Regions from separate parts of the Homo sapiens genome. Here region 2 is linked to region 1. Evidence: promoter capture Hi-C in 16 types of primary human blood cells and fetal thymus (Javierre and others, 2016). All regions are on one chromosome and are shown on one strand. Each heading gives the region's core, a stretch centred on a gene start or on the middle of the fragment in contact. The rest is flanking DNA. Distances are from core to core; before and after follow the strand shown. Region 1 holds the start of RTL1 (retrotransposon Gag like 1). Region 2 overlaps LINC00523 (long intergenic non-protein coding RNA 523).

Region 1 (4,154 bases), core at 1,012-3,511:
TTTTAAGAAACAAAAGCTTCTTATTTAGAGATACAAACTAAAAAATGCTCAGAGGAAACAGGATGGTGTCTGAAATTTGCTTCGAAATAGTCCAGGGGTAGGGGTTGGGCAGTGGGAGTAGAGGGACAGTTTAGGGTTTAGATGAAACAAGAGGGGCCAGGGTTTGACGGCAACCGTGTCCGGGTAATGGCAAGATGAAAATTGAGTAAACAGTAAAAATACGTACTATTTTCTCTACTTTTGTGTTGTTTGCAATTTCCCATAATAAAGGGATTTTTAAATCAACAAGTGAAAATACAGTGCAGAAGATGAAGGGCTGGGGGTGAAGGGTGCCATTTAAAAGAACAGAGGGGCCTGGGGTATGAGAGAAATTTTCTGGAGTAGCAGGGAACTGATTCACAGGGGGCAAATGCCTCAAAGTGAAAAGGGAACTAGAGGGGCTGGATCCAGAGGGAAGAGAATCATTCCACGTTGAGTGGACGGAGGACGATGTACCAGGGTGCAGAGTGTTGCGGAACGAGACACCCGCCAGCTGCCCAGAGACCCTCCTGCAGCCCCCAGCGCTCCTCTCCCCACTCTCCCTCCCAGTCCCTGCCTCCCCGAGCCCTCCAGCTCTCTCCCTGACCCCTGGCTGGAAAAGGGCCTGAGGGTACCACTCTTCAAGGCAGAGCGGCCACCTGATGAGCCCTTCCCTGGGACTCTGGTCCCAATTTGGTTACTGGGACAACGCTGTCTCCCATTAGACACGCTTTGAAGGAAGACCCTGGAGTGACCGGCTCAGTCATGCTGGGAAGGATTCAGCTGTCTAGCTTTCAAATGCCTTTTTTTTTTTTTTTGGCTTTTTTATTTCTTTTGGAAAGATAAGAGTTGATGCTTTTACCCTAAAACTGTGTGCCAAGCCGCTCTGGCTATCCTCAGCCCCACTCTTCCCCTATCTCTGTAGCCCTCCTTTCCGTCCTTCATAGGCTGCAAGCTGACTGGCGCCCGACCCCAGGTCCACACCCACCTCCCTCTACCCCCTGGTCCATGCACCACTCCCGGCCTCCTCCCCCACTCTTCTCTTTCTGGCCCCGCTGCAGAGTCTCGGGCCCCTCGGCTTCCTGGGCGCCTGGCCACCACGCAGCGCCTGGAAGTGCTCCCTCCCTCATCTCTCGTTCCCCACTTTGGAAAGCCGGCCACCGGACAGGACAGCTCCCGGGACAGCTCCCGCAGCCTGCTGCATTGCAGCGCAGCCGTCTGTGAGGGAGGGGCGCAACCTGCAGCCCCCGCCCCCCGCCCCGACCACCCCCGCCCAGCAGCCCCCAGCCCCGGCACGGCCGGCTCCCCCGCCGCACCGCACGCATCTGTCGCAGTTAAAAGCGCCGCTGCCAGAGCAAAAGCGCCGGTCCCTCTTGACTGTCCCCCTCCTCACTTTTCGGGCTCAGAAATGTGGCCCAGGCAGCCCCCTTGTGGCACGTGGGGGCGCCACAGACTCTTGGCTGGTGTCTGAAGAATTCAGACTGTCTGATTCCACCGCACCGTGAGTTGGCACAAATCTTCGGTGGCCCAACTCCTACCCGATGCAGAACTCTGCTCAGCGGCCTCTCTGAGTGGGGGGCACCTCTCCCCTCCCCTCTCCCCGTCCACACCTCTCCCTTCTCCCTCCAGGGAGGAAGCGAAGGAACTCTCCTGTTGAATATTGCTCTGACAAGCAGACAGGTGTCTGGCAAACGTGATTGGGGTGGTGGGGGAAGGGGGGGGCCAGGAGGGTGGTGGGAATGGGGGCTTTTCTCGAAATGACGTTTGGTTTCCATCTCTTATCTCACAGATGGGAAACCGAGGTGCGGGGAGGGCCATAGTCCCTGTCTGTGTCAGAGTCAAGGCTGGAGATCCTCCTCCAAGTCCAGCCTGGGGCATTTCCCTGAGGTGCCGGGGCACCCTTAAGACGTACCCCTCTTCCCCCTCCCACTTGTCCAGCCCCTCCAGATCTGGTTCTCCCCGTCCGGAAGCCCTGGAGGGCCCCTGGATGTTCTCTGTCCTCTCTAACTCACTGTCCACACAAACAAGCCCAGCCCCCTCCGTCTCTATCTGCAATCTACTTGCAGACAGGCAGGGCCCTCTCCACATCAGGTTAATAATGCCATTTTCATAAGCCTCTGCCCATAGGTGCTACCACCTAATTTTGAATCTGCCCTTCAAACGGATTGGGCCACAGAGGAGCTGGGATCTCAAGCACCGCTGGGAGGTGCTTATAACTAATCAATCCGTCCCCTGCCCACCCACACCCCCCCAGCACTCGGCACAGCCTCGCTGAGCAGCCTTCAGCAGCAGGGTGTGGTGGGGAGCCTCGGAGAGTCTGGGGTTCCATCCTGGCCCAGCCTCACACCAGCTGAGAGACGGTGAGTATAGGACTTTGCCTTTCTGTGCCTCAGTTTCCTCATCAATCTAATGGGGCTCATGAGACCAGTGTGCAGGGTTATTGCCCGGGTGAGTTCTTTGCAGACAGCCCAGTTCGGGACTTGGCTCCAAGACGGGGCTCCATAAATCTCCATGCCTGCACCCCCTCTTGATCACCTCAATTTCCAGTGTCTTATTCCCTGTTTGTTTCCCCCACCAGACCGACTGAGCTTCGAGGACAGGAAGCCACCGGCATCACTAAGCCACCGGCATCACTTCATCCCCAGCCTCACGCTTGGGACTGGGCCCGGGGAAGGTAGGTACACTGTGGTGGCTTGGAGAATGAGTGCATGGATGGATGTCTGTCCCATAGTCTATGGGATGCCCGGACCCCGCTGAGTTTCTCCTCCCCAGACCCCTGTCTAAGCTGGCCCTTCAAGGAAGCCGCCGGGAAAAACTGTTCCTTTATGCCTTCATGCTTTACCCCTCGTGCTGTTATATACAATGCAAATTCTCGGTCTATTAAATGCAGATGTGGGCTCTGCATGTCATTTATGCTGCCTGCTGCATCTACTGTGAGTTCCACAGGCCGGGGGCTGCCTCCGGCTGACTTGATTTGTGCGATTAAGCCAGCAGAGGGGACTCTGCCAGGAGAGGTTCCCGTTTGTATTGGGAGCAGGGTCTTGAAAGGCCAGGCTGTTTTCTCTCTTGCGACACTTGTTACATACCTCTCTCTCCCTCCCTGGGTCCCACCGTCTACTCCACAAGCATTTATGAAGTGTCTGATGTGTGCAAGCCTACACTTATCTCATTTAGTCCTCACTTCACGCCAGTGACGGAGAAACTCTCATCTCCATTTCACAGGGGAAAAGCCGAGTCTGAAAAGTAAAGGGAATTGTCTTGCAGCTAGAGAGCAGGGAGTCAAGCCGGTCTGCCTGGCTCGGGAGCCCCCAGCCCTGCTGTGGCTGCCTACTGCTGCTGCTGCTGCTGCTGCTGCTACTGCAGGGCTGACCAGGGCTGGCCGGGAGGCCAGCAGCTCCTGCAGAAAAGGCAGGGGGCTGCATACAGAGCGTTCTCCCTAGCAACTGGAAAAGGGGCCATAGAAAACCCAAGAGGGCTGAGAAGCCGCTCAACAGATAGACATGGAGCAGCTGGCCCCAGGAGGGGAGCACCACGCCCTCCCCTGGGCTTTTAGCAGAACAGCAGGGCAAAGGGCTCTGTCCCAGGTCTAAAAGAACAGAGACAGAGGTGTTAGGACAGGTGTAGAGGCGCCCAATCCTGTTCCCACCATTGGTGGGGGTATTGCCATTCAGCACAGAAAGGAGAGGACTGAAAAGAGAGGGAGCCCACAGCCTGCAGAGATCGGAGGGCAGAGGGGGCAAGGGGGCTGCTGCACAGCCGAGGAGGCAGATGCAAAAGGCAGGGGAGGGCTCAGCAAAGCAGCTCTGCGTGCGAGCCCTGAGCAGGCTGCCTGGGGAGAGAGGGAGCTCCCTGTTACAGGAGGCATCCGAGGGGAGAGAGGCAGGCCAGTGCTTGGCTGAGAAGGCTGCAGCACGGTTTCCTGCCCAGGCTGGCAGCCCACATGTTTAGGCCTTTGAGAAGCTCCCACAGCACCAACTCCTGAGCAGGCAAGCGGGCAAGTGAGCGAGGTGGCCAGAGGGGACCAGGCAGGGGTCAGTATGAGGCCATTTGGCCTCTCCCGAGTAGCTTGCCCTGGGCTAAATGGCAAAGGCACAGAGATGGTTGGCGGGGTGCCTCTGTCCCAATAAGGCAATGAG
Region 2 (4,154 bases), core at 466-2,965, 240 kb after region 1:
AAAACAAAAAAACCATGGAACCAGCAGAGTGTCTCAGCATCATCAGCTGTCTGATAGGTGAGAGCCCACTTGGAGCCAGAGATGGGGAGGGCTATTGTGCTAGCTTGCTGAGGGCTGAGTCGGTCCTTGGCCTTGACAGAAGGGGCCGGCAGAGGGGCACTGCAGGAAGCCAGCAAGCAGGAGGCCTCACTCAGCCTTGGATGGGGCAGAGAGATCGCCAAGAAGGCGCAGTAAGGAGCTGTCTGCCTCCCGAGAGGGTTTTGGGTGAGGACAGACTTTGAGTCTGTCTTGAGGAGAGTGGGGGGGAAGCAGGAGGAAGAATGGGGAGCCACCACTTACTCTATGTCTATTGAATGCCAATTCTTCATATATGTAGCAGTCCTGCTAAGTAGTGGTTATTACGCCTATTTTTCAGATATGGAAGCTGAGGCTCGCAGAAGTATAGTGGCTCATCTGGAGTCACAGCCAGAAAACAGAGGCACAGGAATGTGAACACAGGACCCAGGATCAGTATACCTGGAGCCTGGCCCACCGCACACAGTAAAAACCACAGGAGGGCAGAGGAGGGGGAGGTCACCACAACCCTTGGTGCACGACCACCCACAGGAATACAGAGGTCTCTTTTCACTGTGCTGGCATGGCTCATGATCAGTCAGTATACAGGAGACACAGACCCTCCCACAGTGCCCCTTCCACGTTCACAGCAGACATTGCTAATCAATCACAGCATGCCTCCAAGCACCAACACCAACAATCAGGGTTGGTAGACTGGATGGACCAATTCGCCATCCTGGGCTAGTTCTTTGATTTTAGTGGCTGAACTGTTCAATGCAGCAGCCACGAGCCACATATCGTTACGGGGTGCCTAAAATGGAACTCACATCTAAAGTGCATTTAAGTACAAACAGCATGTTGGATTTCGAGACACAGTCTAACAAAAAAAAAGTAAAGTATCTAATAAATGTCGTGTTGATTACATGCCAAGATGATACTATTTTGGATATACCGAGTTAAAGAAAATATAACACTAATTTCACTTTTCTTGTGTACTTTTTAGAAATGTGGCTTACGTTCGGTTTCCGTTGGACAGCGCTGGTCTCGAGTTCAAGCTGTGCCAACAGCGCCCCTGGTGGCCGAAGTGGGTAAATTCATCTGACCAAGGGCCTGTTTTTCTACTGGAGACCCTGCGCAGGTTACTCCACGGTTCTGCACCTGTTTCCTCATCTGTGAAATGGGGACAATAATAGTTCCTATCTCATAGATTGCAATTCAGGAATAGATGAGTTAAAATATGGAAAGTATGTGAAGCAGCACCTGGCACCGTAATAAACGCTGAGTGACAGTTGGCTATGTTTTTATTATAGCATCTTGTTGACTGGGAGGTAGATTGCAGGCCCTTTTCTCTCCTGGGCCTCCCGATCTTGGCCCCACTCCAGAGCAGCCTCCACTCCCCAGGAGAGATAGGAGCTGACGTCCATCAGGAAGAGCACAGCTTCCTGCTGTGTACACCGGAAGAGGCCCCACCAGGCCAAAGCCATGAAGCCATCACTGGAGCCACTTCCTGTGTCTCACTAATAAGCTTCCCCATCACCCCTCACTGGGGTTCTGGTTCCTACCTGAGCTCTTGAACCCTGAGCCCAGTTCAAATCTCTGGAGTCCTCAAAGCCCCCGACACTCTTGCTGTTCCCTGACTCTCCCCACAGCATGGTTGCTGACACTGATCCTTCCAGGAAGCTGCTTAACTCAGTCCCATTTCCCAACAAGCTCTGAGAGTCATTAAAAATAATAATAGATGTGCCTTTGCAGATATAAAGCAAGAATGGCTAGTTGTGGCATTTCTGCAAAGCTTAAAAAACACAGAAAAATTATTTTTAAAAAAGGAGGGGGGAAAGGCTTTTGTAATTCCACCACCAAGAGTCAGCCACTACTTACTATCTTCCTAGCTCCCTTTCTAGAGCAGTGCTGTCCAATAAAAATGTAAAGTGAGGCCGGGTGCAGTGGCTCACACCTGTAATCCCAGCGCTTTGGGAGGCCGAGGTGGGAAGATCACCTGAGGTCAAGAGTTCGAGACCAGCCTGGCCAACATGGCGAAACCCTGTCTCTACCAAAAATACAAAAATTAGCCGGGTGTGGTGGCATGTGCCTAGAATCCCAGCGACTCAGGAGGCTGAGGCAGAAGAATCGCTTGAACCTTGGAGGCGGAGGTTGCAGTGAGCCGAGATCACGCCACTGCACTCCATTCAGCCTGGGCAAAAAAAAAAAAAAAAAAATGTAAAGTGAGCCACATAAGTAATTTCACAATTTCTAGCAACATGTTTTGAAAAGTAAATTTCACCTGGCTCTTAACCAGGTGAAATTAATTTTAACAATATATTTTATTTAACCCAATGTATTCAAAATATTATCATCTCAATGTGTAATCGATGTAGAAATCTTCACGAGATCGTTTACATTCTCCTTTTGTACTAAGTCTCTGAAGTCCCGTATGCTGCTTGCACTCACAGCACCTTTCGATTTGGTCAAACTGCATTTCAAGTGTTCAGTACCCATGTGGCTCATGGCTGCTATATCAGAGAGTGCAGGTCTAGGGTGCTTTTTAAAGCAAATGGGCGAGTGTTGAGTGTGACAATGTTGGACTGTCAAGGCCTGTAGAGTTTGGGACCCTGCTAGTCCACACTTGCCCCTGAGCCTTGCAATAATGAAATCCCTTCCTTCCTCAGGGCCAGCTGCTCCATGCACACCATATAGAATCTATACACTCTTTCCCAAGAGCTCCATGCACTATTAGGTGGGGAATCATTGGATGTCAGGAAAAGAAAGGGCAAGATAGCTCCATGGTGCCCTGGGTCGACGATGGAGAAGCATGCCTCTGAGAGCCCTCCAAGGTTAAGAAACAGGGAGTCCCCAGCACCCCTCAATCATCCTCATTCACATTGCTACTGCCCCGTTTTCCACACTTCAGTTTCCTCGGATTTCGTACTCCAGGCAGAAGCTCCAAGACGCCTAGTACTTCAGGTTTGACATCCTGCCAGCTTGGGCTCCAAGCAATGGGCTCCCCGTACATTGCGAACCGCGTGTCTCCCAAGATGAAAGACTGTAAAAAAAAGATAAAAATAGTTCCCGGGAAAGGGACTGCTTCAGCTGGCCCAGTTTGTAGAGTCCCTGTTTCATCTCTGATGTGAATAATTCATCTCTTCTAAAGTGCTGCTGTTAAGTTAGGAGCATCATTATTGCATTTTTTTTGATGAGGCACTTCTTAAAAAATCATAAACACCCAGCACATTAAGAGGAGAGCCTGAAGTACGTCATTTAGAGCCATTTGCTCAGGCAGAACCCAGCGCTTGTGATCCGTGCCGTCAGCTTGTTCCCTAAGCTGACATATCAAAGCTGCCTTTGGTTTCCTCCTTTGCTTAGACTAGGGAGTATGACCTTGCTTCTTTTGAAGAGTTTGCAGAGGTGGCCCTGGAGAAGGAAACAGTCCGGCCTGGGAAGCAGGCGGCCGGAGGGCTGGCCCTTGCTCTCTTTGGCCTCTTCTCAATTACCTTGTGAAGACAAGCACAAGTAAACAACTCTGGAGTGAGGCCAGCTCAGTATACATTCTTGAAGAAGCCGAAGGGCACTGCGATATGAATAATAATATGAGTAACAGTGACTCATGCCACCATTAATTGATCACTTACTACATGCCAGGCCGCCCACACTAAGAGCTCTAGATGCATTATCTCATTTCATCCATGCAACGCTATGAAGAGGGACACTCCTATTATACCCATTTCACAGATGAGGGCACTGAGGCACGGAGGGCAGGGATGAGTCATTTGCAGGGCTGTCTGCTCCTGTCCTTCTCCACCTCTCTCAGTGGGGAGGGACACTCCCCTCCAATTGCTGATAGTCCCTGGAATCCCAGCTGAGCCCAGAGCAGGTCTGCAAAGAGGTCACTGAACTCCGTGATAGTAAGGTCAAGGCCACCCTGAAACCAGCCATCTCCTACAGAGCCAGGCTGCCCTCCCCTTGCACACAGGCTGCCTGGGCTTAAGTTCCGCCAACAGACTTGGAGCAGGAGGGCTGCGGGCTGCCCTTTGTATGCACATGCGTCTCCAAACCAGCCTTTTTACAAAATGTATTTTAGTTGTGGGATCCTTTATTCCCGTGAA

Evidence for each region. Contacts are between HindIII fragments. The CHiCAGO score rates a contact against its expected background, and 5 or more counts as called.
Region 2: a fragment that was not itself captured here is called in contact with the fragment with the promoter of RTL1 in region 1 in 1 of 17 cell types (megakaryocytes); the score reaches 7.0 in megakaryocytes.

What each region holds. Positions count from the first base shown.
Region 1 is chr14:100,901,829-100,905,982 of GRCh38, reverse strand. RTL1 (retrotransposon Gag like 1) reads left to right here and starts at 2,261. Exons shown (of 4, transcript NM_001134888.3): 1 at 2,261-2,378; 2 at 2,597-2,692. All of the region lies in intron 5 of MEG8 (maternally expressed 8, small nucleolar RNA host gene), which reads right to left. The HindIII fragment of the contact is 7,837 bases long and covers 19-4,154 here.
Region 2 is chr14:100,660,439-100,664,592 of GRCh38, reverse strand. The region is part of intron 1 of LINC00523 (long intergenic non-protein coding RNA 523); the gene reads right to left. Among named protein-coding and RNA genes, the nearest start is that of LINC00523, 5.2 kb to the right of the region's middle. RefSeq lists an enhancer at 2,872-4,071. The HindIII fragment of the contact is 267 bases long and covers 1,582-1,848 here.